Regions from separate parts of the Homo sapiens genome. Here all the other regions are linked to region 1. Evidence: promoter capture Hi-C in 16 types of primary human blood cells and fetal thymus (Javierre and others, 2016). All regions are on one chromosome and are shown on one strand. The core of a region is centred on a gene start or on the middle of the fragment in contact, and the rest is flanking DNA. Distances in the headings are between cores, read along the strand shown. Region 1 holds the start of CHSY1 (chondroitin sulfate synthase 1). Region 2 has its middle 5.3 kb from the start of TARS3. Region 3 overlaps TARS3 (threonyl-tRNA synthetase 3). Region 4 has its middle 16 kb from the start of TM2D3. Region 5 overlaps ALDH1A3 (aldehyde dehydrogenase 1 family member A3). Region 6 overlaps LRRK1 (leucine rich repeat kinase 1). Region 7 overlaps LRRK1 (leucine rich repeat kinase 1).

Region 1 (4,035 bases), core at 443-2,942:
CCCGAGTAGCTGGGATTACAGGCATGCACCACCACCCCCGGCTAATTTTGTATTTTTAGTAGAGTCGGGGTTTCTCCATGTTGGTCAGGTTGGTCTCGAACTCCTGACCTCAGGCGATCCGCCCGCCTCAGCCTCCCAGAGTGCTGGGTTTACAGGCGTGAGCCACCGCGCCCGGCCAGCTTTTCACTGGACACTAGTTTCGAAGAAAACTAGGTAAGTCTAAAGCAGGTTAGAAAATACTGAAATCGTTGAATATGCTACAAAATTGAACATCTGAATCTGGCCAGATTCGTACTTCATGTAAATCACTGTGAATGATGGGGCTGCTGAATTTGGGGGATCTGGTGACTCCTCGGCATTTGTGGTTTATGGTCTTAGTGGAAACCTTTTTCGATGGTTTTCGAGCCTGTAATTCATGGTTGTATGTTCTGTATTTTTCCCAAGACCACTGCTGGAATCCTGTATTCACTGCATAATGAGTATTTTATTTTTAGATGTGGATCACCCCTTAGGGAGGGGCTCTGTGGGAAGGTAGGTAATGAACTATTTTTAATATAAATCACAAGTGTCAAAGAAAGTGGTAATATCCAAAGAATAAACAAGAGTGACCACCATTCAGGTGCCGAGAAGGTATCTGAAGCTCCCACAGGCATTTTAAACTGTGTGATAGTATTTCAACCATTTGGTCAACAATGAAGAAAGATCCAAGGATTGCCCCAGGCATGTGTTTATTTGATTCAATGCAGGTAACTTCTCAGGCCCAGGGAAACACTTTGCCCTTCAAAAGTTTCATTAGAAAACCCCAATATACTGGTGACTAAGTAACAAGACTGAAACTCTACACAAACTTTCGTTGTATGGAGACCTCCGCTTTTGCTGCCTTAGCTGAAGTATTGCAGAGGAAATGTATAAAACTTAAAATCCAGAGTAGAGGATCTGGGACCCAAAATCCGTCTTTAGAAATCCACGGCACTTTTACAGACGGACTATATTAAAGTAGGGACAAAGTCCCAGGCTGGGGGTACTAGCCGGCTATCTGCCCACACAGTATGTAAATGAAAGTAGGGTTTACCATCCAGGGCATTAACTTCATTTTCCTTGTCTTCGAGATCCATTAAATGCTAGTACTGTATGAGAAGCGTGGACCTTAAGTATTAAAGATGGCTTTTTCTTCTTCTTCTTCTTATTTAGCGTAGAAACTAGCAACAGGGAACAAGGTAACTGAATTCACGGTCCACTCGCAGGCGCGCACGTCCCCAGGGCTCCGGGACGGCTGTTCCCTGCGTGCGGCCGCGGGACTGCGGACAAAGCTGCAGTGTGGTCGGGAGCGCGGGGCCGGGAGCGCGGGGCCGGCCCGGCGGCAGGAAGGGCGTGGCCGTGGGGTGCAGCGAGGACGGCCCGTGCGGGAGGAACGTGCGCAGCGTGGAGTCTGGGGGCCGAGAAGCCCCCACTGCAAGGCTGGCTCCCGAGATTCGCGCCCGGGCGCCGCGGTGCGGGAAGCGGCCGTCCTCGCGGGGACGCCCTTGCGCCGGGTGCTAGGTGCGGATCACGGGCAGCTCCGGCCCCGCGGGCGCCGGGCGGGGGCCCACGCCCCCTCCGCCCGCCAGCTCCAGTCGCAGACCGCGCGGGCGGGGCGCCCGAGAGGGCTTTTTTTTTTTTTGGTCAAACTTCGGCCACGTGAACCGCCCCTCATTCACTTTTGCGCCAATCGCGCGGCGCGGACGGATCCCGAGAGGGGCCACGGCTCGCCGCCGGCGGGGCCACTTCATAACGCGCCGTGCGTGACGTGAGGGGCTCCTGTTGCAATGGCGAGCTAAGCCGGAGGATGTGCAGCTGCGGCGGCGGCGCCGGCTACGAAGAGGACGGGGACAGGCGCCGTGCGAACCGAGCCCAGCCAGCCGGAGGACGCGGGCAGGGCGGGACGGGAGCCCGGACTCGTCTGCCGCCGCCGTCGTCGCCGTCGTGCCGGCCCCGCGTCCCCGCGCGCGAGCGGGAGGAGCCGCCGCCACCTCGCGCCCGAGCCGCCGCTAGCGCGCGCCGGGCATGGTCCCCTCTTAAAGGCGCAGGCCGCGGCGGCGGGGGCGGGCGTGCGGAACAAAGCGCCGGCGCGGGGCCTGCGGGCGGCTCGGGGGCCGCGATGGGCGCGGCGGGCCCGCGGCGGCGGCGGCGCTGCCCGGGCCGGGCCTCGCGGCGCTAGGGCGGGCTGGCCTCCGCGGGCGGGGGCAGCGGGCTGAGGGCGCGCGGAGCCTGCGGCGGCGGCCCGGCGGGCGGAGCGGCGCGGGCATGGCCGCGCGCGGCCGGCGCGCCTGGCTCAGCGTGCTGCTCGGGCTCGTCCTGGGCTTCGTGCTGGCCTCGCGGCTCGTCCTGCCCCGGGCTTCCGAGCTGAAGCGAGCGGGCCCACGGCGCCGCGCCAGCCCCGAGGGCTGCCGGTCCGGGCAGGCGGCGGCTTCCCAGGCCGGCGGGGCGCGCGGCGATGCGCGCGGGGCGCAGCTCTGGCCGCCCGGCTCGGACCCAGATGGCGGCCCGCGCGACAGGAACTTTCTCTTCGTGGGAGTCATGACCGCCCAGAAATACCTGCAGACTCGGGCCGTGGCCGCCTACAGGTGAGCCCCTGCTCCCCGGGCACCGCCTCCTGCGTCCGGCATCCCGGCGGCCGGCATCCCGGGTGCTCTCCTGGCTCTCGCCTCCGCCCGCTTCCTAGGCCCTTCTTGGGCTTCCGGCGGGATCGGGTTGCCTCTCGGGAGACGCCGGGCCGAGGGAGAAAAGATCAGAGGCGGGATGGTGAGCGCGGCGCTCAGGAACATGGCCTTTGGGGTCAGATGGACTAGTGTGGCCTCGCTGGGTGTACCTCTCACCCTGATGAAGGCACTTTAGCCTTTGCAAATCGAAGCTTCTCGTTAGAAGGGCCCGACAGATCGGGTCTCCCTCATAATGTTGGAAAACTCATAGCACAGTACCTGATAGTGGAGGCAGTTGGGGCTGATACTGGATTCCCTAAAATGTGCACCTTTGTCCTTGCAAAGCTGGAGCCCGTGTACGTTAATCTAGTTCTAGAACCTTTCCACATCATACTCTCACATTTCGCAGTTGGAGGCACTCCTATAAATGAAAGAGAATGCCCGCAGCATATTGGACCACACCAGTCTGTTGAGTACAGAGAGAGAGAACCTTGGGGAAAAGCAGTTCTTGGCCCTTGGTAGATTCAGTGGAAAACTGCATTCTGGTGTTAATTAGTTCAGCTTGGTGGTGTATGCATGTTATCCAGTAACTGGGCTCTAGTTGGCCAAATGAGTCATAAAAGCAGCTGGAATTGTGTTCAGGTTTAACAAAGGGATTAGCCAATGTAGTCTCTAGAAGGGAGATGATTTTGGAATGGCTGGCATGGTTAGAATCAGATTTGTATTGGAGTGAATTTGAAGTTGGAGAGGGTTGTAGACTCGATAAAGGGATTTGATGGAAACCCTATATGTGTGAAGTATAGAGACACTTACTGTATGGATAAAGTTTGGGTCTTATCCAGCCACAGAGCAAACCAATGTGGGGAATGGTTTTAGAGCATCAGTTGTCTGGTAATGAAATTTCAGAGCAGCCAGTGCTGAGCCAGGCTAAGCTGGTTGCTGTTTGTTCTTATAACCAATACCTTTACACTTCAGTTTTTAAATGCAGTCTTGGTCAGATTTTTCAGGCACTAGATGTTGTGAGGGGAAAAGCATATATGGTCTCCCTTGCCTTTAAGGGAGAAAGTAAAGGACTGAGAAAGAAGGTGAAAGTGGTCTTCAGTGACTGCCCCTTGAATGGCTTGATCCCCATTCCTGCACATTTCCATTAGGGTCCTGCTTAAGTCCAGAACCCACATTCCGCCAGGAAGGGTCCTGAGTGGCTTGAAAAGCTTAGAATGCAGGTATTGTAAATACAGACTAATGCAGGCGGGGCGCCGTGGCTCACGCCTGTAATTCTAGCACTTTGGGAGGCCGAGGCGGGCGGATCGCCTGAGGTCAGGAGTTCGACACCAGCCTGACCAATATGGTGAAACCC
Region 2 (4,035 bases), core at 738-3,237, 480 kb before region 1:
GCTTATGTTTGAGGCAAACATTTTATCCTTTGCTTTAACATTTGTTCTCTCTCCTTCTATAATTTTTTTTCTGAACCATTTGAACATGAGTTACATACATCATAACTAAATACTTTAGCTTATTTTTACGAAGGATGGAGATCTCATATAGCTTTAGAACAATTATCAACTTCATAAATTTACATGAACAATACTTTTATCTAATGTACCATCTGTATTCCAATTTTGTCAGTTTGTCTAATAGTGTTCTTTGTAGCAATTTTACCCCTTCCAGGATCCAATCTGGAGTAAGGTATTGCATTTAATCATCATGACTTTAGTACCATTTAATCTGGAGCATTCCAGATTTTGTCTTTCATTATATAAACATTTTTGAAGAATTCAGTTTCTCCCCTCCACCGTTAAAAACAAACGTTCCTCATTTTGTGTTTATGTGCTGTTTCCTTGTGATTAGATTGGGGTTATGTATTCTTGGTATAAATTCTGTACAGGGGTGTTATACCTTCTTTAGAATATCACATCTGGAGGTACATAAAGTCCACCTGTTCCTCATAGGTGATGTTCATTTTGATCACCTGATCAAGATATTGCCTGATTTCTCCATTGTATAATTACTTTTTGTTTTCTCCCTTGCAACTGGTTAACAGCCTGTGGGGGAACATTTTATGTCCATGCCAGTATCCTGCTGCTTTTCAGCACTGCCCCCTAGATTGAGCATGATGATTCTTGTCTGATCCAGTCCTTACTATGAAGGTGGCAAAGTGATGGTTTTCTAATTTCCCATTTACCTGTGTTTGCCATTTAGTCCATGGCATAGACTATAAACTGAGCTCTGGCTTCTTTCCCATTTTTTTCTATTATTGGTTGGACTTGTGAGTTCCCATATTTTTTAATGGTTTACAATTCATTACTTAATTATTTTTGAAGTTCAATTGGTTTGGCTGGTGGGATCCCTTCAAGCTGGTTCCTGTGCCCTTGTATCATGTTCCCATCATTTTTGTGGAGAGCGCTTTGTTAATTTCCAGCAAAACAAAGTGCTCTACGCTTATCTTGAACTTACATGTCTGATATCATTTGGATATCTGTCCCCTCCAAGTCTCATGTTGAAATTTCACCCCCAGTGTTGCAGGTGGGGCCTAGTGGGAGGTGTCTGGTTCATGAGGACAGATCCCTTATGAATGGCTTGGTGCCGTCCTCGACAGATCCCTTATGAATGGCTTGGTGCCGTCCTCGACAGATCCCTTATGAATGGCTTGGTGCCGTCCTGGACAGATCCCTTATGAATGGCTTGGTGCCGTCCTGGACAGATCCCTTATGAATGGCTTGGTGCCGTCCTGGACAGATCCCTTATGAATGGCTTGGTGCCGTCCTGGACAGATCCCTTATGAATGGCTTGGTGCCGTCCTGGACAGATCCCTTATGAATGGCTTGGTGCCATCCTCGACAGATCCCTTATGAATGGCTTGGTGCCGTCCTCGACAGATGCCTTATGAATGGCTTGGTGCTGTCCTCACAGTAATGATTGAGTCCTCACTCTTAGCACCTGTGAGAACTAATTATTTAAAAGAGCCTCACATCTCTCCCCTCTCTCTTGCTTCTGCTTTCCTGTCATGTGACTTTTGTACATGTGGGCTCCCCTTTGCCTTCTGCCATGAGTGGAAGATTCCTGAAACCCTCACCAGATGCAGATGCTGGCACCATGCTTCTTGTACAGCCTGCAGAAGTGTGAGCCAAATATACCTCTTTTCTTTGTAAATTATCCAGCCTCAGGTATTTCCTTGTAGCAACATAAATGGACTAAGTCAATGTCCCAGCTCTGGAATAGGCCTTTCTGCCAGGAACCCTTTAATGAGGAAAGGTATTAGAGGTCGGGACCTTTATCTCTTGGTTATCTACTTGTAGATAACCAAATTCATTGTTTTCTAGTTTATTTTCTGTTTCTTTTTGTGATGATAAGCAGATATATGCATGTTTTCATTTTCTCTTTTTTCTTATACAACATGTAACATACTACATGTGTACATTACTGTTTTTTTTTTGTTTGTTTGTTTGTTTTGACGGAGTCTTACTCTGTTGCCAGGCTGGAGTGCAGTGGCGTGATCTTGGCTCACTCCAACCTCCACCTCCCTGGTTCAAGAGATTCTCCTGCCTCAGTCTCCTGCATAGCTGGGACTATAGGCGTGCACCACCACGCCCAGCTAATTTTTGTATTTTTAGCAGAGACAGGGTTTCACCATGTTGGCCAGGATGGTCCCAATCTCTTGACCTTGTGATCTGCCTGCCTTGGCCTCTCAAAGTGCTGGGATTACTTGCGTGAGCCACTGTGCCCAGCCTGAACATTACTTTTTTTGCTTCATAAAATCTCCTGGAAATCGTTCCATATCAGTTCAGAGATCCTCTTAATTATTTTTTTAACAGCTTCATAGTGCTCCATTTTTTGTGTGTACTATAGCTTATTGAACCAATCTCCTATGAGGTACTTTACAATCACAACTCTTCCGTTGAATTTGTGTGCATATGCATTTTTGCCTTCTTGTATCTTCAGAATAAATTTCTAGAAGTGGGATTGCTGGGTTGAAAAAGAAATGTATATTTAGTGTTATTAGAACTTTGTCATTGCTTTATTTTGCTGTCATTTTTCTCAATTTTTCAATTGAGAATTTATTTCCATTCTTTTGTTTTTATCAATATAGGTGTTAGAGTTATGATTTTTTTCTGATTACTGATCTGTGTATTGCATAGATTTGTAGTATTTTCATTATCACTATTTTAAAGAAAGTCTGTACTTTCCTTTTTCATTTCTCCTTTCAATAAAGAGATGCTTAAGAGTTTTAAAATTTCCATGTGAAAAGGCTTTTTGTTGTTGTTTTATTTTTAATTTCTAATTTTATTGCATTGGGGGCTGAGAGTGTTGTACCTAATATTTCTACTTTATGAAACCTACTGAGGTCTTTCTTGAGCTCTACAAATGATTAATTTATATGAAGAATCTATACATTTGTTTAAGAGGAAGGTGCATCTTCCATTTTCAGGGTATAGTTTATATAGATAGATATTTATATATACATATTGATAATGTGAATATATTCAAAATATCTACTTTTTAATTATATTGTTTGGGTCTTTTACATCCTTACTTTTTTGTGGGGGCACTTGAATGTACTCAGAGAGTGGTTTGTTATTTTCCTTTTTTTTTTTTTTTTTGAGATGGAGTTTTGCTGTTGTTGCCCAAGCTGGAGTGCGATGGCATGATCTCAGCTCACCACAAACTCCACCTCCTAGGTTCCAGCAATTCTCCTGCCTCAGCCTCCCAAGTAGCTGGGATTACAGGCATGCGCCACCACACCCAGCTAATTTTTTGTACTTTTAGTAGAGATGGGACTTCTCTATGTTGGTCAGGCTGGTCTCGAACTTCTGACCTCAGGTGATCTGCCCACCTCGGCATCCCAAAGTGCTGGGATTACAGGCATGAGCCACCACACCCAGCCTTGTTATTTTCCTCTTATTAGTGTGTTTCTCTTTCTCCTTTAGTTTCCTGTAGTTTTTTTCAAATTACAGGTGTATAGATATTCATAATTGCTATATTTTCATTGTGGAATGTGGCACTTAACATTACAAAATGTCCTTCTTTGTCTTATTTAATGCTTTTTGGCTTGAATAATTTTTTAGTATATGTCTCAAATATTGCATGGGACATATTTATATAAACATTATTTTTTGTTTATCTGAAGTTCAAATGTAAATGTGCACTGTGTATTTTATCTGGCAATCCTAAATACAGAAAAGTCCTAGAAACAAAGACTGCTGCCAGGACCCACATTGTGTGATTTAAATTACAATTCCCATTAAAATGGACTAGGCCACCTTGGAGAAATGATAGATTCCTTGAATATAAGATGAGCCTGAAACATTTTATCAAACCAAAAATCAAGGAAGCAATTAAATTCTCAGGCGTCAACTTAAAGAAGCTTCTGCTCCAGAAGAGTGCAGAACCATCTGTAAATCATGGCCAAATTTTACCTTCCTCAGTCAACT
Region 3 (4,035 bases), core at 1,012-3,511, 410 kb before region 1:
ATTTTCCTAATGATTCATATGCTAAGTAATTTAGGATTATATCCTGAATGTCTTGAATATTATGTTATGAGATGCTGTGTCTTGTTTAAATCCTAAGGCGGTTGTCTTGTTTTGGCAGTGAATCTGCCTGGTTAGGTTCAGGTGGAAATTTCCAGCCCACTTTTGTGGGCTGCGGTTCGGTGTCAGTTCAGTTATCGAAGCCTTTATAGTGATATTCACATCTGTTCCATGTGTTCGCCACCCAGTGGCCAAGTCCCATAGGTCATACCGTGTGCCAAAACGGAAAAGCTTCTGGGAGTTGACCTCTAACTTTTTGCCTGATTGGTACAGTGGAGTTAGTAGGACTCCGAAAAGTCTAATCTCTCCGTTTTGGAGGAGCAAGGGTCAGAACTATTAGAGAGAAAGTCAAACCTTCAGGATCAGTCCTACAACAAAATTGCTTAGGGCCATCAGAATGCAAGTGAAACTACTCATTTAAGGAGGACGTGGAGGAGAAACAAATCAGCCCAGCCAGCCATCATAGGTGTTGTGTGGCAAATGGCGAGTAGGCAAGCAAAGGTGGAAGCAGTGGATTGCAGACCAGGTAAGAAATGATGACAGTTGGAGCCAGGTGGCATAGAGATGAACAAAGTAGGGGTACTGGAAGTGTATTTTGGAGGAAGAACTGATGTGATTTGCTCAGGCTTATGTATGAGAGGAGAGAGAGAAGCATCAAGGTCATCACCATGATTGAGTAAGGGTTTTTCCCTAAAAAAGCAGGGGTGGATGAGAGTGTGCTGTTGTCATTCATTACATTCAGCATGCAGAAAGGCATCAGATAAAAGTTAACATTCATTCCTGTGAAATGAACAGAAATTTCCTTATCACGATAAAGAGCTTTTATCAGAAAACAGCAATAGCATCTCAACACAGTTGGGAAGAAGACGAATATGACTACTATTTGTATTGTTACTCAAAATTATTCTGGGATTACAAATACATGAAAGCAAGAGATAAAATTATTATTAGTAGATGTTAAAATATAGAGAAATCCAACAGAATCAAATGGAGAAATGGGCACTAATAATAATGGAAGGTAAAAATGCAAAAATCAATTTGCCTTCATAATGTTAGCAATAATCTGCTAGGAAATGCAATGGAAAAAACATTTCAGAAGCAACAGCAACCACAAAATAGAAAATATGAATAAACTTAATAAATATAAATATAGTCATGCATCCCCATAAATGTAGTCATGACAGGGATATGTTTGGAGAAATGTGTCGTTAGGCAATATCATTGTTGTGTGAACATCACGGAGTGTACTTACACAAACCTAGATGGCATAGGCCACTACACACTTAAGCTGTATGGGATAGCCTATTGCTGCTAGCTCCAAACCTGTGCAGAATGTTACTGTACTGAATGCTCTAGGTACTTGTAACACAGATCACTAGATGATAGGAATTTTTCAGCTTCCTTGGGTGCAGGACACCAGCGTGGCTCATGTATACATATGTAACAAACCTGCACATTGTGCACATGTACCCTAGAACTTAAAGTATAATTTAAAAAAAAATTTTTTTCAGCTTCTTTATAATCTCGTGGGACCACCATCATATCTGCAGTCCATTGTTGACCAAAATGTCATTAGGCAACACATGACTATAGATGTTATTTATAAGCATACGCTATAAGTTTTTCTCCAAGACCACAAAAAAGAGTTATTTAAATGAAGATTCGTACCACACTTTGGAATGAGAAGAATCAACATTGTGAAGTTATTCTCTTCAAATTTATCTATTAATCTAATATAATTGTAAGCAAATCCACTGGGGTTATTTTGGGGGAATTTGGCATTCATTCCAATGTTTATCTGATAGCACAGATGTGTAATCATAGTTTATGTCACTATTTGCTCTTCTTAAGTCTAGACATGATTCAAAGAAATGATGGGACAGAAATTTTGGATACCCAGGCTCTGTGAAAGGATCAGTTTGCTTCTCTTTCTTCCCTACACAAAATCAACATGATGGGATATTCAGGAATATTTCATACTGGTTTCAATTTTTGGGATGAATTTCTTCATATACCTGCATAGGAATGGACTCAAGCCGCTCACCCCTACCCCAAAGCTTCCTGTAGGGTCCAGACAGAGAGTTTTGCCTGCAGTTATTCTATAATGGCTCTTAGCAGAAATGGTTGGCAGTGATGATATCCAGTTACAACTCATTTGAAGTAGGTTTAATGAATGGGTTTCTCTGTTTTTGTTTGTTTTATTTTATTATTTATTTGTTAAATTTGTTTCATTTATTGTAGTAGTAGCTAGCTGGTATAATTTTTAGATAAAAATTTATCAAAAGAACTTTGTAAGTGTCGCATGTCACATTTGTTGCAATAATGTGAAATTTATCTTTCTGAGAAGCTTGTGCTTGTGCAGAGATCTTGAAGTGGCTTACTTCATTACAATTAAGTCATCATTTGCTTTTTTCATTTTTTTTTCCTAAGGGGAAGAGGGAATAATTAAATGTAAGATACACCTCATGAGGGTTTCAGGGAATTTGACCAGTGGACTTCAAGAACACATATCAGGAACATTTTAAAAATGAAGATTATAATGTGGGAGATAGTGGCAAGAATGGGGGTGCATTTGGATCAGATGAGATTGGCTGTGAGTTGACATTTTGTGAAGCTGAGAGAGGGTATGTGGAAGTTCATTATACTCTTCTCTCTACTTTTGTATATGTTTCAGTGCGCTCTAATAAAAAGTTTTTAAAATAAAAGAAAAAAGATTAGCAAAGAAAGCAATGAGAAAACAAGACAGTCACAGAACAAATAAGGTTAATGGAGAGATCTGATATCACTAATCTAAATCTATTCTCAAAATTAAATATAAGGCTAGAAGATAGTTATTGAATCTTAGGAAAAGACTTAAATGTATAATTTTCATTTTTTAGTAAGGATGGGGATGATAAGAAGAGACCTGTGATCATTCATCGAGCCATTTTGGGATCAGTGGAAAGAATGATAGCCATTCTTTCAGAAAACTATGGCGGAAAATGGTAAGTGATATGGAAAAGAAAAACTATATGTCTATTATTCTTTTTAATTTTTATTAATTTACTCATTTTTCCTTTTTAAAAATATTTCTATTCTTAAAAAATCATGTGTAAAAGAAAAAAGTAGTAACAAAAGAAAGGGCCTTTCCTGCCTTGTAATTAGCAATTGTCCAAACAGCAAATAAAGAATTCTTATTCGATTTGCCAGATCAGAAAATAAAAACTAAGGGAGAGTGGCATAAAACTGTACCATTTACCTTTTGGGGGACTCGGTAGAATTAAAGTTATCTTTTTACCTGTTTCAAGCCCTTCAGAGATCTAGTTGCTGTCCTGAAAACATGTGACCCACACTCCTAGGTACCACCTCTTGCCCTCCAGCCATCCTTCCTTCAACCCATATTGTTTGCCTTTGGGGTTCCCTACAGCCACTGAGGAGGAAAACATGTAAACCTGATTCATAAATGGCACAAACTCAAAGAGGATGGCTCAGCAGCACAGCCCATTTAGGATGACAGTGGGGAAGGGAAGTGTCCTAAAGTGCAGAATTTTGAGTGGTGCATCTTGTGGTCTTTTTTGAGTGGTGCATCTTGTGGTCCTTTTTGAGTGGTGCATCCTGTGGTCCTTTTTGCCCGGAAGGAAGAATGGCCGGAGATAAGGAGTTACATGGATGCACAGGCTCTAGTTACTGCTTTGGCCACAGAGTCAAAGATTTAGAACTAATTAGATTGAAAAACAAATTACATAGATTTGGGAAGCAGAAATGTGGATGATCACTCAGAATGGGCCAACAGAGGTGGTATTGCCACCAAAAGGCCCCCGCTGTTGAGGAATTTTTCAGTATTCCAATACAAGAGGACCCATTCTGTTAAAATCAGCTGCTTTTTCCCCTAGTTGTTGCTCAATGGCTCATGGGCAAAGTGGCCACTGGTGGATAGGCATGGGCTCAAAGACATGGACTTTGCCTCACTAAGTTCCATCTGGCTACATCTCTTCTGAG
Region 4 (4,035 bases), core at 950-3,449, 380 kb before region 1:
GACCAGCCTGGCCAACATGGTGAAACCCCCGTCTCTACTAAAAATACAAAACAATTAGGTGGGCGTGGTGGCAGGTGCCTGTAATCCCAGCTACTCAGGAGGCTGAGGCAGGAGAATTGCTTGAACCTGGGAGGCAGAGGCTGCTGTGAGCCGAGATCATACCATTGCACTCCAGCCTGGGCAACAAGAGCGAAACTCTGTCTCCAAAAAAAAAAAAGGTGGGGGGGTCTCACTGGTGAGGAAAAACAGGTTAATTCGGAGAAAGAGAGGTATCTATATCTTTCTCCTGTTACTGCTGGGGGAAGTGAAAAGGGCTGCTGGGAAGAGACCAGTGAGAGAGGGCTCGTGAACAAACAGGAGGGACTCTGATGGGTTCAGGGGTTCCCTGCTGAACCAGATAAAGGATCCAAAGCCTGGGGTGACCCCCAGGGGTCATTGCATCATTCCCTGGGGAGGAAACTTTGATTCAGGACATTTAGAAAATCCTAGTCAAGAAACCAGAGACCAGATATTCTAGCAAAGATATAGTCTCAGCTGAGCTTTTCCCTGCCTCACTCCTAGCTATCAGGGCACGGAATGTAGAATAGAACACAAAATACAACTTGCAAAATGCTCGAAGAGAAAACCAAGGGAATTTGTTCACATATTATGAAGTTGTCCTTTTACATGAGAACAAAATGAAATGACTCACCACCCACTAGAATGACTATAATAAAAGGCATTCTTAACCTGCCTGCGCAACGTAGTTACGCCTGTCTCTAAAAAAAATAAATAAAAATAAGCAGGTGTGCGCCTGTGGTCCCAGCTACTTGGGAAGCTGAGGTGGGAGCGATCTTTGAGCCCAGGAGGTGGAGTTACAGTTAGCTACTGAGGACTAAACTCTGACCTTTTTTCCCTCTTGCCCAAATTCCTATCTAAGGGGCTGGGGAGTTGCACCTTATAAAATCTCAAAGCAGTTTTATTTAACCCTATGTGATGTGGCTTACTTTCCAACCTGACTCTGGCATAACATCACATGACAGATAAATCAAAATATTTTAACCCCAAATATGTTTCTTTGCCATATCTTGAAATGGCCCCGCATAGCTGTCTCTTGGAAAAATCTACATTCTGCAAAGAATCCCCTTCCCTTTCAGGTCTTTTCCCTGACACAGCAGAGAATCAGTCACAAATCTGGCACCTTTTTCAGTCTAAGAAACATTTCCAATCTATTCTCTCTGAAGCTCGCAATCTGGAGGCTTCATCTGCATGATAAGAACCTTGGTCTCCACAATCCCTTATCATAACCCAGACACTCCCCTCTGTTGATTAGAGGTCTTTAGACAATAACACTTTCAACCAATTGCCAATTAGAAAATCCTTGAATCTACCCATGATCTGGAAGCCCCTGCTTCGAGCTGTCCTGCCTTTCCAGATGGAACCAGTCTGCATCTTACATGTATTGACTGGTGTCTTATGTCTCCCTAAAATGTATAAATTCAAGCTGTAGCCGGACCACACCGGGCACATGTTCTTAGGACCTCTTGATACTGTGCCTCACTCATATTTGGTTCGGAATAAATCTCTTCAAATATTTTACAGAGTTGGACTCTTCATCGACACTGTGACCACACCACTGCACTCCAGCCTGAGCCACAGAGCGAGACACTGTCTCTAAAAAATAAAAGAAAAAGAAAACACAATAACAAGTATTGATGAGAATGTGGAGAAATTGGAACCTTCATATATTGCTGGTGGGGATGTAAAGTGATGTAGCTGCCCAGGAAAACAGTCTGGCAATTTGTGAAAATGTTAAACATAGAGTTACCATGTGACTTGGGGAATCTTCTAGGTATACACCCAAGAGAAGTGGAGATATGTTGTGAAAGTTGTCAGCACCAAAATGGGGTCACTTAGGTCAAACCCTAGCAAAATGAATCCGGGAGGCCCTGAAGGAGGAGTACTCACGCACATGTACCTATGATAAGAACTATTACAAGGACTCCCTGGAAACCATAAACACTCCATGTTAAGCTGCTGCTGTGAAGACATCTCCCCAGCAACAGCCAGCGTGACCAATGAGGAGCTATGAGCTTCAACAGTCAAGAGTTTTTGTTTCAAACCAGCTTACATGACTTTCTCCTTTTTGTCTTTATAAAAGTTTGCCTTGACCCCAGCATCTTTGGGTGTTTCTTGGTTCATTGTGGCATGGGTATCTTGGATTGCAATCCCCCACCAATCCCAGATAAACTCCTTTGGAGAGCCTATCTGTCTATTGTTATTTTAGGTTTTAGGACATACACTAAAAAACTCGTTTACAGCACCATTATTCATAGTAAAAAAGTGGAAACAACCCAAATGTCCCACTGATGAATAATACATAAACAAAATGTAGTTCATTCATATAATGGAATACTATTTCATCACATAAAGGAATGAAGTACTGATACACACCATAAGGTGAATAAACCTCAAAAACACGGTGCTAAGGGAAGAAAGCCAGTTACACTTTAAGCTGGTAACCTTTACAGCATATAAATTACTTCTTAATAAAGCGGTCTTAAAAAAAAAGAAACGGCTCAGTAACCACACATACATATGATAGAAGGGGAACGAGAGAACCCAGATGAAAGGAAAGACAGGAAGAAACACAGTCTGCGAAAGAAAGATGAAGAGTTCATCTTGAGGAAAATATAATCCAAGAAACACAGGAAAAGCCCCTGCGAAAACTCTGTACTATAGAACACTTAAGCGTATTTCTTCATTCAGCGAAAGTACTGAGCCCCTATGTGGCATGCACCCTCCTGAGCCCTGGGGATTTAGCACTAAGCTAAGTTCTTCCTTTCATGAAGCATGTCATATTCTTGTGCACAAAAATATAAGCACAAAGAGATGATTCCACTGAACCCCCGCCCCTCCCCATCAAGCAGGGAACGTTGATTTGTCCACACTGGAATAGATGCTTACTTTGAACACGGATTCGCCTTCTCTAGCTTTATTCACTGTTTCACACAAGATTGCTTCTGATCAAAGAATTTATTTCACAGTAAAAGAAATGTGGCACCAAAAGTGAGTTCATGCTGAGAAAGTGGAAAATGGCCCTGATAGTAGCCAGGCTGTGATTTTAATCACTAAATATAAAAAATGCTCACAGATTGCAAACAGTATTCCTTTTTTCTCCCTAGTTTCTTAAGGTAGATGCTTGGGTCACTAATTTGAGACATTTCTCCTTTTCTAATATAAGTATTATAAGTAATGCTATAAATTTCCGTCTGAACTTTGAGAACATTTCACAAATTCTATTATGTATAATTTAAAATATTTTATAATTTCACTTTTGAATTCCTTTTGGTCAAAAGATTTATATTATTATTATTGAGACAGGGTCTTGCTCTGTCACCCAAGCTGGAGTGCAGAGGCACGATCTCAGTTCACTGCAATCTCCACCTCCCAGGCTCAAGAGATTCTCCCACCTTAGCCTCCCGGGTAGCTGGGACCACAGGTCTGCATCACCATGGTGGGCTAATTTTTAAATTTTTTTCTAGAGGTAGGGTCCCACTATGTTGCCCAGGCTTGTCTTGAACCCTTGGGCTCAAGTGAGCCTCCTGCCTTGGCCTCCCAAACTGCTGGGATTACAGGCATAAGCCACTGCACCTGGCCCAAAAGATAATTTTTAAATAAAGCATTTAAAGATAATTGTTTAAATGAGTTATTGGTCTTAAAAATGTCCTCAAAGACATTTTCAAGATATATTTTTGTACTTAGTTTGTAGCTGGTTTTCACTGTGGTAAGAGAATAAAATTTGTATTATTTTAGTTATTTTAAATTTGTTGATTTGCTTTATGGCTCACATACGGTCTATCATGCTGAATGTTACATGTGCACTTGAAAATAATGTGTATTCCACTGGTCCAGGTCATGTGTTTTATCAGTGACGATTAGGTCAATTTGCTTGATAGTATTTTTCAGCATTTTTCTATCTTTGCCAATATTCCGTGTTCTTATTCTGTCAATTACTGACAGAGAAATGTTGCAGTCTCCAACTCTAATGGTGGC
Region 5 (4,035 bases), core at 463-2,962, 350 kb after region 1:
GACTGCCTGCTTCAGCCCCTAGACAAGCACCATGGTTTCACACACACCAGGGGGATTACCTGAGGCCCCTGTTCTGTTTTGACATCGAAGGGGTCTCCCACGGGCCGTTTCTTGGCATACTCCACGCTCCGCCTGACAAACTCAGAGTAGACCTGCTCCTCCACGAACACCCTGGAGGCTGCCGTGCAACACTGGCCTTGGTTGAAGAACACTCCCTGATGGGCACACTCCACTGCCAAGTCCACTGGAGGGGGAGGGGCGAGGGAGGCGGGCAGAGCGAGAGGAAGCGATTAAGTTGTTAAAGCAGGACTGGTGACAGCTGCAATTCTAATTGCCCACACAAGAAAACAGGCCCCAGGATGGCTGCATTTCAGAAATTAATTTTGTTTGCAGACTTTCCCAAATAGAGAGGAAGGGAGAAAGGATTTTGGGGTCCACCAAGTTTGGGGTTAAATCAATTCCCTGACTGCAGGACTTCTCAGTACCTTTAATATGCTAATAAGTCCAGAGAGTCATAGCACCCTCCATTTCACTTGCCTTTTTCTAGAGGACTCCCCTCCCCTCCCCTTTTTCTAGAGGACTAATGTTTTATAGAATAAACTTCGGTAATTATTGATGTAGGCCCCCTGGCGAGAACTTCTAAAGAAGCCAAAATGTTCCACCTTGAGTAAAAGAAGGGTCTTATTAAGTAAGATAATATCATGTGTGTGACTTAGAAGGGCTGACTAAGTTGCAGAGCTGACATTGAACTAAAACCAGTTATTCAAACCAAGCCAGAGGGTATTTAGAGAATAAGATCTTGGGGGACACGCTTAGTGGATAAGAATGGTATTGGGATGTCATTTACATCTACAGAGGGGTTTCTAGTGTTCAACCGTTGGCTGGTTTCATCACCACCAACCCCCGCACTATTGCTTTCTTAAGAAATGCAGCTTTCCTTTGCATAGAGGCTGGCAGTGGCTCTGGGCATTGGAAGGTGATCCGTTCCAATTCCACAGGGGCTGCTCCAAGGGACTGTGCCCTTGGCTTTGAGAAGGAGGCTGCTCCTATCTAGCTGAGTCATTTGTGGAAGTTTCAGTGGCAGCAGGACAGCACCATAAGGTTTGGGGGTACCTCTCTGCACCCTTGACCCCTGCAGCTGGCTGGGCCAGGTCCCAACTTGGAACTGCCCCTCCTCCGAGATAACAGACTCATTTCCTGCTCCTGACGGAGCTAGGGGTGAGGCGAAGGGGCAGGGGAATGGTGGCTTGTTACCCTTGATGTCTTGCCTGGGATGCTGGTTATGTCAGGATGTAATTTGTGGACTGGCACCGCCCTGATGAGGAGAAGGAGGTGGCTACACAGCATGTTTTTATGACCCTCGTAAGTAAAACCAAGCCCCAAACACAATTAGTCCTGTGCTTTAGCTGCAGTTTTCCTCCCCAAGAGGAGGAAGATGAACTTCAGTGCAGGTGGCGTATCCAGATACGGTGGCACAGGAAAGCAAAACAGGAGTCCTGGCTGTTTGGGACTCCAAATGTGAGTCACAGTGCCAGAAATGCTCCGTGTGGCTCCAAAAACCACTTGCTATTCATAGCACTAATGGTGCTTCCACAAGGGAACACTGACCCAGGCAAGAAATGGAAAGTCCATCTTCACACCCAGCTCCCCTTTCCTTCCTGAGAGCCTGTATCCTCCTCCTGTCCTTTCTCCCATTGTGAAAGCCAGCTGCCAGAAAGGAACTGATATCAGTCATTTACACCTTAGTAAGAAATTGTGCCAGGGTCATTTTTCTTGGGGATATTTGCAATTCCAACCTTATCTGAGTGTGAAGTGAAAGGCTTTGTTCTCCACGACAGGAATTTCTGGCACCCGTGGACAGGTCTGGGAGGCTATTCTTTAAGGCAAAGGTGTTTCAAGGCACTTGGGAAGTCACACCTTTTGATAGCTGACCCTGTCAGCAGGTGAATGAATGCCCGGCCAGCCCTTCCTTCCCTCTTGTGGACATGGCAGCCAACAATAGCATATATTTTAACGCTGTGTCGTTTGGCTGTCAAGACGCAAGCTATCCCCAAACTGCTGGGCAGGTTGCTTTCCCAGGGCAGGGGTGCAGGCCTAGAACCAGGCAAAGCGGGTAATTTGAAGGATCAGTTGCTACTGCCCTCCTCTGATTTATCAGGTCTGAGACACAAGGAAAGAGCACCTCCACTCTTCAGGGATCTTAAAACATATGATAGGAAATGTGACTTGGAGGGGAGAATGAATGACTGGGAGTGGGCAGCACCTGCCCTCCCCACTCCTCCCAGGGGGCTCTGGAGGAGAAGCCAGACCTGCTCCTCGTGACCCCAGCTCTGCAGGAACAGGCAGGTAAACTTAACGCTAAGGCGCAGAAACAGGCAGCCTCTCAGGTGCCACTCAAGCCATATCGTTTTGGCAGTAGAAGGCAGCTTTCTGCTAGAAGTAAAGCTGGCATTTTGATGTCCACCTGCCTGTCTGCGGCTGGCTGACTGTGGGCAGGATGCCCACGGTGGAAGCGTCCCCACTGTGTGTGCACACATCTTACTCTCAGTTGGTTTTGAATTCAGGCCAGGAAGTAGGGGGAGACAGATGGATGCCCTGAAGCCCCAGCAAAGCCCAGGAGGGCAGAGACTCACAGTCAGCGTCCGCACACACGATGCAGGGGTTCTTCCCCCCCAGCTCCAGCGTCACCCGCTTCAGATTGCTCCGGGACGCAGCTTCTTTAACCAGTTTTCCAACCTCCAGGACAGAACACAGATCACAATTTACCTTGGATGTTGCTGAACTTGGCCCAGGCGTAAACATCAGTGAACATTCTGATCAAGCCCGGGTGGCAGTGCCACCACCTGGCTCTCGGCCCAGGCGCTCCAGGCCCCGATGCCGTCCCTTCACTGTCCTGGCCTCTGCCAGCATCTCCTCCCATGCCAGACCATGACATCCTGGGATCCTTGGTCTAAGCCGCTCCACTTACAGGTGTGAGTTAGAGCCTCTGGAAGCCCACACAGCTGGCTGGGAACAGGGCTGCCACCCGCTAACCTGTCCTGGTGCCTGTCCTTCTGAGCCCAGCAGGCTGGTCCAGCCAGTCTGGTAAAGGGCTTCAGGGACCGCAGGGTGACTCTTCTACCTCTCACTAGAAACAGCTGAAATTCCAACAGCCCAGTAGGGGGGTGGTTCTGTGTGGCTCTTTGGTGTGATCTGAGGGAACCTCCAAGTGTTAGAGAAGTAGCGAGGGCAGCCAGCCTTCCGGATGAGAAGGAGCCGATTCTCTGGAAACACACTCTAAGACTGAGGCTGCCGCAGACAGGCAGGGAGTGAAGGGGTGCGCTATGAGCAGAAAAGCCACTCACCAGTCATGCTCAAGGCCCCCACGGGGTCTCTCCCATTGCCCACTGTACCCCTGGAGGGGAGGGCTGGCCCAGCATGACTCGGTGACTTATCTAGGGCAACAAGTAAAGCCCAGCACCACGAACTTCAGAGCTGGGAAGATCCTCAGAGACCAGTGCAGACACGGAGGCCTAGAGCCAGAAGCTAGCAAGGCGCGGCCCAGGCTCTTCCGGGTCTGAGACTGTTTTCTCCAATGCTAAGGTGTGAGCGCATTTTAAACATCAGCAAGCTCATGGGTGATGGCTGAATGAGGTCTGGAATCCATCCACAGGGCAGTGTCTGTCTCCAAGGAGAGTAACAGCATCCACCAGGGCTTGGACTAACTAAGGAGGGGGATGGGGACACTGATTGCAGCGGGTGTTTTTTTCTTTTTTAAGTACAGAAGAAATACTTTCTCATTAAAAGTAATTCCACATAGAGATGTATGTGAATTACAGGGAGAAAGCCTTCAGCTTCCCTCCGGCTCTGCCCCGAGCCCACCCCATAGGTGGCCATCAGTAAGGATTTCTTGGGAATCCTTCCAGATAATTTCTACTTCTACAAGCACACACCTCTACGAATGGGAAAATATTGTGGGTAATTTTCTACCGTTTGCTGTTTTGTGCTTCAACAATAGATCATGGACAGCTTTCCTTGTTGTAACGGCTGTAAAAC
Region 6 (4,035 bases), core at 649-3,148, 320 kb after region 1:
CGGGAGGCCGATGGAGGTAGCAGGGAAGGGGGTGATTCTCATCTCCAGGGCTCCACAGAACACTGGGTCTCCAGGCACTCGTCATCACGAAGGGAACATGTCATTTAAAGTCACAAATGTAACCTAGGGATGAGTCAGCCCCAAAAGAATGAAATGCAGAGGGAGCAGCAGATAGATGGGGTGCAAAAGGGAAGGAAATATTCATTTATTATGGCAGGAAGTCAACAGGCACTGTTTCAACGGATCAGCAATAGAGAGGTGCAGGCATCTTCTTTACATTGAGAAATGATAATTACCTGAAGAACTAAAACCAGAAACAGGAAATAACAACTCTTTTGGGAAGTTGACACTGGGGCAGGGCCTTGTTGCTTTTCCTATATTATAGTCCCTTCTGTCTGACAGCCTTCATTAACCAGGGGTATGCCTTCCTTTGATAATTTTTAATGTGCTTGTTCTGTGATCCCGCCATTCTGCTGGGGCATATGCAGTAATATTCAACTCTTAGAAGCAAAAGGTAGAAAGAATCTAAAGACCCTTTAATAAGACATTGATGAAAGATGGTTGGATTCACACCAGATGTGGTGCATATAGAGGGAACTCTGAGACATCCTCAAGGGAAAAAAGTTGTACAATAGTATGTACAACTGAATATGCATGTAAAACCAGAAATATATACAAAGATAACCATACATGTGCTTTGGAAGAGGTTAGGAAGAAAACACACTCAGGCCAGGTGCTGTGGCTCACGCCTGTAATCTCAGCACTTTGGGAGGCCGAGACGAGTGGATCACTTGAGGTCAGGAGTTCCAGACCAGCCCGGCCAACATGGTGAAACACCATCTCTACTAAAAATACAAAAATTTGCTGGGCGTGGTGGCGAGTGCCTGTAATCCCAGCTACTCAGGAGGCTGAGGCAGGAGAATCGCTTGAACCCTGGAGGTGGAGGTTGCAGTGAGCCGAGGTTGCGCCATTGCACTCCAGCCTGAATGACAAGAATGAAACTCCGTCTCAAAACAAACAAACAAACAAAAAGAAAACACACTCAGCTAACAGTGATTACCCATGGGCATGATGGAAAGGGGGCCAAGAATAACTGTGGCTTTCTCTTATCATGTCAATCCACTGTGTGAATTGTGGAATTCCATATAAATAACTTTTTTCTTAACCTTCAGGGAGGAGTCAGGCACCAGGAGAATGCTCATAGTGCACTGTCAGGCAGCGGTTCTTCGCTTGCTTCTTATTTTTGAACCCGTGGGTGCTGGTGAAGGTTGCACAGAGACTGGAGTGACGGCCCACTGGAGCCATTTTTGCCTGGAAGCTGGGGTGGGGGCAGAATGACTGGAGGAGCCCTGCCCTGGCCTCCCGCGCCAGCCCCACCAGCAGATCGAGGCCCTGAACCTTCCATCTCTAACCCTGCAGGTGTGGGCCACCTGTGACCACCCACTTGCCTCTCTGAGTTCACACGGCTGTGTCAAGTCCAAACTAAGCTGCTAACAGGAACTTCAGAGAGCCATTCCTGTCCACTTACATTCAATTTCTAACCTCAAATTTGCATCGTAACATGGCTTCATATTTAAAATAATCGATTAAGATGTTCTCTGCCTTTAAATATCTCTGAGTCACTGAAAAGTTCAAAGTGTCACGTAAGTTATTTTTGTTCTCGGTTCTCCTGAAACGACCAGGTAGGTGATTTTAAGCCAACATTTGGCAATGTGCCACGGCCCCTGGGTGCTGGATGTTGAATGGAGGATGAGAGGATGTCGCCAGGCACAACCCCAGCAGCATTAGCAAAAGGAACTGCAATCCTCAAAAGTTCTTTACAGTTGAAAATACAAGTTCTGATTAATGTGTGCTTCTTTGTGCAGCATGGGGGTGATGAGCTCAGGAAGGACTCTATTGCTTGAGATATGTGTTTCTGTTCGGTTTTCTCGTTTCTTTTTTATGACAAATGTCACCCAATAAGTAGCAAGATGGCTAAGTGGAATCTGGACAAACTGAACCCAAGGGTGGCCTGAATAGTGAAGGGACTCAGAATTGGGACTTCCAAAGAATAATAGCAGCTTCTTATTTTCATTCATCAAACTTTCCAAAAATGTGCGTGCAATTCACACACTCAAGTTTAGACTTACATGGCATTGGGAGTGGTGGGAGGGCTCCATTCCCAGAGAACTAAAGAATTTCATAAAAATCCCTAGTGATGGCTCCTTCAAAGTCTGACTCAGGCAAACCAGGAGGGGTGAAAATCCTTGTCGCTCTGCACAGGGGCCTGGGGAGGCCCACATGGACATCTCCCTGCTCTCAGGCTACTGATCTCTTCATGGGGGCCAGGGCAGATGGCTGGTAAGAAAATCTTCTCTCTTGGTGGCTGAATGCATGCCAAGTGAGCCTGGGCTGCTCCCTAGCAAGCACAGAGGCCACCAGATAGGGCTGCCCTGCACACCCCACATAAAGGAGGCCAAGTCAGGAGCAAGTGTGGGGTGGGGGAGGCCAGGGAGGGGGTGAGGACTGGGGCTCTGGTGAGCTACCACATTCAGGCTTGGGCCACCTAGGATGGGGTGGATCAGTGGGGGTGCTCCTGAAAGCCGGTCCACGGCAGGGTGGGGAAGCAGGTAGGGGCAGCTCTCCCTGTGGACCCAGGTGTGTATGGCCTAATAATTAGCCCACAGACAGACTGAGAAGTCAAAAAACTCTTGGATATCCAAGCGGAACGTGTAAAGTTGCCGGCGGCCTGTCCGTGGGATGGCTTACTCAGCCTAAAAAGGAATCTGCAGGGAGGGCAACACATCTGCTTTTAGTGACTCCAAGAAATGGGTTAAGGGATTCCGATCTGTCTAAATGAATAAAGCCTGGTGCAAAGAGAGCCCCACAGCATCCACTTCCTACCAGAGCTGCCCACAGAAAGGCTGGCGTTGTTTGCTAGGGAGTCAGCTCCCCATTGCTAGAAGTAAGCAAGCACATTCCAGACAAGTAACCAGGAGAAGATCTAAGCCTCAGGTTAAAACGAATGTTCAAAGGCTCATCAAGGGCCTGGAGCATCTGTAGCTGGCCTCTGCTTTGTAAGCATGAAGCACAGCTGTGCTAACTGCCACCTGCATGGATGGACGCACACAGCCACCTCGCCTGCCACCTGGGCCACCAATCAGCTTCCCTGTCCTTCTCCTCACTCATTAAAAGATTCCTGACCAGACGTGGCTGTGCTCCCTGGAGGGGCTGGTGAACTCCTGCAGCCAGGCTGGAATCTCCTTCCCTGCAAGGCCCTGCCTGCCCTGTTTCCTGTGGCTCTCACGGTGTGAACACAGCCCAGCACGTTCAGGCAGGAATCCAACAGGAGGAACAGGTCAGAGATGTGGGCTGGCTCATCACTGGGGATCTGTCCCTCGTAGACTTTCCTGCTGTGGCCTGACAAGAAGGCTGGCTGCCACCCTAGAGGCTCTTCCTAATTTGATCTATTTCCTAGTTCTATTTCTGGAAGGCAGGAAGAGACCCTACTTGAGCAAACCTCTTAGCTCCTATATTAAGGAGTTGTATTTCAAATACAGATTCGCAAAAGCCAAAGGAGAAAAAAACAAGACATTGGAAGTAGCCATGAAACAACCTGGGATTTGAAGAACTTCTGGAATGTTCCTTCTCCTCCTTTGGTCCATGCTGGGTCCGGTGGTGGGCAGTGCTCTGAGAGGTGTGTGACTGTGGCAGGGCTTTCAGGACCGAAGCGACGGCCACTCACAGAGAGCTGGGGGGGCGAGCCACTGCCTGGGTGATGTCTGCTCAAGTTCCACCCACCCTCCGCAATCCAGAAGTCTTCCCAAGTATTCTCCACCTGAATTATGTGGAAGTTTCCTGACTTCTCTACTTTCCAGGACAGCTCTCCTTGGCTGGCGGGACTGGTTTTTCCACTCTGGCTGGTGTCAGACATACTCAGAAGAATGAACATCTAATGACATGTTTGTCAAAGTAATGCGCGTCCTGCAGCCCATGCCCAGCATCTCATTGACAGCTGCTCTGTCAGCTGGCAAACTCTACGCCCATCAAAGCTTT
Region 7 (4,035 bases), core at 1,110-3,609, 300 kb after region 1:
TTATTCACAAGAGCCAAGATATGGAAACAACCTGTGTCCTTTGACAGATGGAGAGAGAAAATATGGCTTATATACATATACATATGTGTGTATATATATATATATATATATATATAGACACACACATACACACACACAATGGAATACTATACAACCTTTAAAAGGAAGTAAATTCTGTCATTTGCAACATGGGTGAACCTGGAGAACATTATGCTAAGTGAAATAGGCCAGACACAGAAGACAAATACTCTATGATCTCACTTATATGTGGAATCTTAAAAAGTCCAAATTAAAGAAGCCGAGAGTGAATGGTGGTTGCCAAGAGCTGGGGCATGGGAGAAATAGGGAGGTGTTGGTTGAAGGGTACAAACTTTTAGTTATAAGATGAGTAAGTTCGGGGATCTAATGTACAGCCTGTTGAGTATATAGTTAATAATACTGAATTGTATACTTGAAATTTACTAAAAGAGTAGATCTTAAGTGTTGTTAATACACACGGGCACACAAAGGTAATTATGTGAAATGGTAGATGTGTTCATTAACTTGATTATGCTCATCATTTTGCAACATTTATGTATATCAAATAATCACATTATATACATGAAATATATAATTTTTATTTGGCAATTATACCTCAATAAAACTGTAAAGTAAGTGAATAAAAATGCTGCTTAATGAGATTAGCCAACATTCAAATGAGTGGCCCTAGAGTTAATTTTGGTCAATAGATTCTGTTAAAAGATCTTGCTTAAAGCATAAGGAATGCCCAGTAATATTCCCAAGTAAGATGTAAGCTTTATGACGCAGACTTAAAACCTGGAGGCAGCCGAGTTAATTGTCTGGTTAATCACCATAAAAATCACTGATGGGAATGATTACTGTGATAAAACGTGGATGTACCTGAAAGCCTGACAAGCATTTGATACCATTTCCAGGGAAAGGTATGCTGGGATTGAATGCTGTCTCCATCAGAGGAAAGAGTGGGCCAGGGCAGGAGTCAGGTCCTGTGAGAAGGGCCCCACAAAGAAGAGTGGGCTAATCAATGGTGTTTGTCCAACTGGATAGCCACATGGAAAAATATATGATCAGATCCGTTACTCCCGTGAAACACCAAGATAATTCCAAATGAATTAGAGATATAATGTAAAAAAATAAAACGATGTAGGCATTAGAAGAAAACACAGGCAAATTCCTTTTTAGCCTGGGAGTGTATAACCCCTTTAACTGTGGCTCACAACCCAGAAGTAATAAAAGATGGATACATCGGTCACATTTAAAAGATCACAGCTTTATTGAGAGATAATTCACGTATCATAAAATTCACCATTTAAAAGTGTACAATTCAGTGGGTTTGAATATATTCACAGAGTTGTGTAACTATCACCGCTTTCTAATTTTAAAACATTTGTACCACCCTGCAAATATACGCTTATACCAGTCAGTTCCCACTTCCTCCTCCAGGTCCCTGCCAACCACTAATCTACTTTCTATCTCTACAGTTTGCCTCTTCTGAACATGTCATATACGTGGAATAATACAATATGGTTTTTGTGACTTAGTTCTTTCACTCAGCATGTTTTCAAGACTTATTCATGTTGTAGCATATATTAGTACTTACTCTTAATAATACTATTATTTTATTATTATTATTATTATTATTTTTTTTTTTCTGAGATGGAGTTTCGCTCTTGTTGCCCAAGTGGGAGTGCAATGGTGCGATCTCAGCTCACTTGCAACCTCTGCCTCCCGCGTTCAAGCCATTCTCCTGCCTCAGCCTCCTAAGTAGCTGGGATTACAGACGCATGCCACCATGCCTGGCTAATATTTGTATTTTTAGTAGAAACAGGATTTCACCATGTTGGCCAGGCTGGTCTCAAACTCCTGACCTGAGATGATCCACCTGTCTCGGCCTCCCAAAGTGCTGGGATTACAGGTGTGAGCCACTATGCCCGGCCTTATTATTTAATTATTAAGTATTAATTCATACTTGCTAGTAATGCTATTATTTCCTTGCTATTGCTGCGTAATATTCCACTGTATGAATAGACCACATTTGTTTATTTATTCATCAGCTGATGGGAGCTTGGGTTTTTCCACTTTTTGGTTATTAGGAATAATGCTACCGTGATCACTTATGTGCAAGTTTTTCTGTGAATATCTGCCCTCAGTTCTCTTGTGTATATACTCAGGAGTGGAATTGCTGGGTCATATGGTAATTGCATGTTCAAAATGTTGAGAAACTGCCAAACCATTTTCCAAACTGCCTGCAGCATGTTCCAGTCCCACCTTCAATGAATGAACGCTCCAATTTCTCCATATCCTGACTACCGCTTGCCATTTTCCATCTGTCTTTCTGTTGTCCTTTCTGTTGGGTGTGAAGTGGTATCTCATGGTGGTTTTGCTTCGCATTTCCATAATGATTAATGATGTTGAGCATCTTTTCATGTGCTGATTGGCCATTTTCACATCTTCTTTGGATAAATGTCTATTTAGTCTGTTTAGACCCTTTGCTCTTTTTTTCTGAGACGGAGTCTCACTCTGTAGCCCAGGCTGGAGTGCGGTGGCGCAACCTCTGCTCCCTGCAAGCTCCGCCTCCCGGGTTCACGCCATTCTCCTGCCTCAGCCTCCCAAATAGCTGGGACTACAGGCGCCCGCCACCACGCCCGGCTAATTTTTTGTATTTTTAGTAGAGATGGCGTTTCACCGTGTTAGCCAGGATGGTCTCGATCTCCTGACCTCGTGATCTGCCCGCCTTGGCCTCCCAAAGTGCTGGGATGACAGGCGCGAGCCACCGCGCCCGGCCTGCTCTTTTTTAAATTGGGTTGTTTTTTTGTTGCTGAATTGTGAGAGTTCTTTATATAATCAGATACAAGTCCTTTAAAGATAAATAATTTGGAAATATTTTCTCCCATTTCACAGGTTCTTTTCACTTTCTTGATTATGTCTATTGAAGAACAAAAATTTTTAACTGATGAAGTCCAACTTACTACCTATTTTTCCTTTTGTCGCTTGTGTTTTTGGTGTAGTATCTGAGAAACTATTGCCTAATCCAAGGTCATAAAGATTTAATCCTGTTTTCTTTTAAGAGTTTTATAGGTTTAGCCATTCTCTTGTATTTTATTTGAATATTAGAATCATCTTGCCATTTTTGTAAGAATTTCAGCTAGGATTTTAAAGAGACTGCATTGAATGCATAAGTCAATTTGGGGAGTATTGCCATCTTACCATTATTAAGTCTTCCAATCCATGAATACAGAATGTTTTTTCATTTATTCAGGTTCTTTTTAACTTCTTTCCACAATGTTTTGCAGTTTTTGGTGTATAAATCTTACGCTTCTTTTGTTACATTTATTCCCAAATTTTTTATTCTTTTGGATACTATTGTAAATGTGTTTTCTTAATTAAATTTTCAGATTGTTAAGTGATAATTCATACAACCACAATTGATTTTTACATTTTGATCTTGCATCCTGCAAATTTGCTGAACTATTAGTTCTAATTGTCTTTTGTGTGTTGTTTAGAATATTCTACGTACAGTATGATGTCACCGGAAAATATAGTTTTACCTCTCCAATTTGGATTTCATTTCTTTTTCTTGTCTTTGCCCTGGCAAGAACCTCCAGTGTAATGTTGAATAGAAGTAGTGAGAGTGGACATCCTTGTTTTGTTCCTGATGTTAGGGAGAAAGCAGTCAGTCTTTCACTATTAAGTATGATGTTAGTTATGGGTTTTTTTTTTGTTAACAGATGCAGTTTATCAGATTGAGGAAGTTTCCTTCTATTACTAGTTTACTGAGTGTTTCTCATCAAAGGGTAGTGAATTTTGTTAAATGCTTTTCTGTGTCTATTGAGATGATCATATATTTTTTCTCCTTTATTCTATTAATATGGATTATTATATTGATTGATGTTAAACCAAGCTTGGAATCCTAAGATAAATTCCACTTGGTCATGGCGTATAATCCTTTTTATGTGTTACTAAATTCGGTTTGCTAGTGTCTTGTTGAGATTTTGCATCTATATTTGAAAGAGGTAG

What was found. Contacts are between HindIII fragments. The CHiCAGO score rates a contact against its expected background, and 5 or more counts as called.
Region 2: a contact is called between a fragment that was not itself captured here and the fragment with the promoter of CHSY1 in region 1, in 2 of 17 cell types (neutrophils and naive B cells). The highest score is 5.4, in neutrophils.
Region 3: a contact is called between a fragment that was not itself captured here and the fragment with the promoter of CHSY1 in region 1, in 1 of 17 cell types (naive B cells). The highest score is 5.6, in naive B cells.
Region 4: a fragment that was not itself captured here is called in contact with the fragment with the promoter of CHSY1 in region 1 in 5 of 17 cell types (neutrophils, naive B cells, total B cells and 2 more); the score reaches 10.2 in neutrophils.
Region 5: a fragment that was not itself captured here is called in contact with the fragment with the promoter of CHSY1 in region 1 in 5 of 17 cell types (M0 macrophages, M1 macrophages, endothelial precursors and 2 more); the score reaches 8.1 in M0 macrophages.
Region 6: a contact is called between a fragment that was not itself captured here and the fragment with the promoter of CHSY1 in region 1, in 7 of 17 cell types (naive B cells, M0 macrophages, M2 macrophages and 4 more). The highest score is 8.7, in naive B cells.
Region 7: a contact is called between a fragment that was not itself captured here and the fragment with the promoter of CHSY1 in region 1, in 3 of 17 cell types (M0 macrophages, M2 macrophages and monocytes). The highest score is 7.0, in M0 macrophages.

Annotation. Positions count from the first base shown.
Region 1 is chr15:101,249,705-101,253,739 of GRCh38, reverse strand. It overlaps CHSY1 (chondroitin sulfate synthase 1), which reads left to right and starts at 1,692. Exons shown (of 3, transcript NM_014918.5): 1 at 1,692-2,603. The coding sequence starts at 2,284. RefSeq lists silencers at 1,228-1,607, 1,778-2,087, 2,278-2,707. The HindIII fragment of the contact is 7,881 bases long and covers 1-2,892 here.
Region 2 is chr15:101,727,769-101,731,803 of GRCh38, reverse strand. No RefSeq gene overlaps it. Among named protein-coding and RNA genes, the nearest start is that of TARS3, 5.3 kb to the right of the region's middle. The HindIII fragment of the contact is 3,967 bases long and covers 4-3,970 here.
Region 3 is chr15:101,660,718-101,664,752 of GRCh38, reverse strand. TARS3 (threonyl-tRNA synthetase 3) reads left to right here. Exons shown (of 19, transcript NM_152334.3): 16 at 2,937-3,041. Among named protein-coding and RNA genes, the nearest start is that of TM2D3, 10 kb to the right of the region's middle. The HindIII fragment of the contact is 290 bases long and covers 2,117-2,406 here.
Region 4 is chr15:101,634,481-101,638,515 of GRCh38, reverse strand. It overlaps a transcript of TM2D3 not described here. Among named protein-coding and RNA genes, the nearest start is that of TM2D3, 16 kb to the left of the region's middle. The HindIII fragment of the contact is 6,033 bases long and covers 1-4,035 here.
Region 5 is chr15:100,896,784-100,900,818 of GRCh38, reverse strand. It overlaps ALDH1A3 (aldehyde dehydrogenase 1 family member A3), which reads right to left. Exons shown (of 13, transcript NM_000693.4): 8 at 2,634-2,736; 9 at 60-244. All of the region lies in intron 1 of ALDH1A3-AS1 (ALDH1A3 antisense RNA 1), which reads left to right. Among named protein-coding and RNA genes, the nearest start is that of ALDH1A3, 19 kb to the right of the region's middle. The HindIII fragment of the contact is 5,242 bases long and covers 1-4,035 here.
Region 6 is chr15:100,928,978-100,933,012 of GRCh38, reverse strand. All of the region lies in intron 2 of LRRK1 (leucine rich repeat kinase 1), which reads right to left. Among named protein-coding and RNA genes, the nearest start is that of LRRK1, 12 kb to the right of the region's middle. RefSeq lists an enhancer at 2,742-3,695. The HindIII fragment of the contact is 4,271 bases long and covers 1-4,033 here.
Region 7 is chr15:100,949,590-100,953,624 of GRCh38, reverse strand. All of the region lies in intron 2 of LRRK1 (leucine rich repeat kinase 1), which reads right to left. Among named protein-coding and RNA genes, the nearest start is that of LRRK1, 32 kb to the right of the region's middle. The HindIII fragment of the contact is 3,125 bases long and covers 797-3,921 here.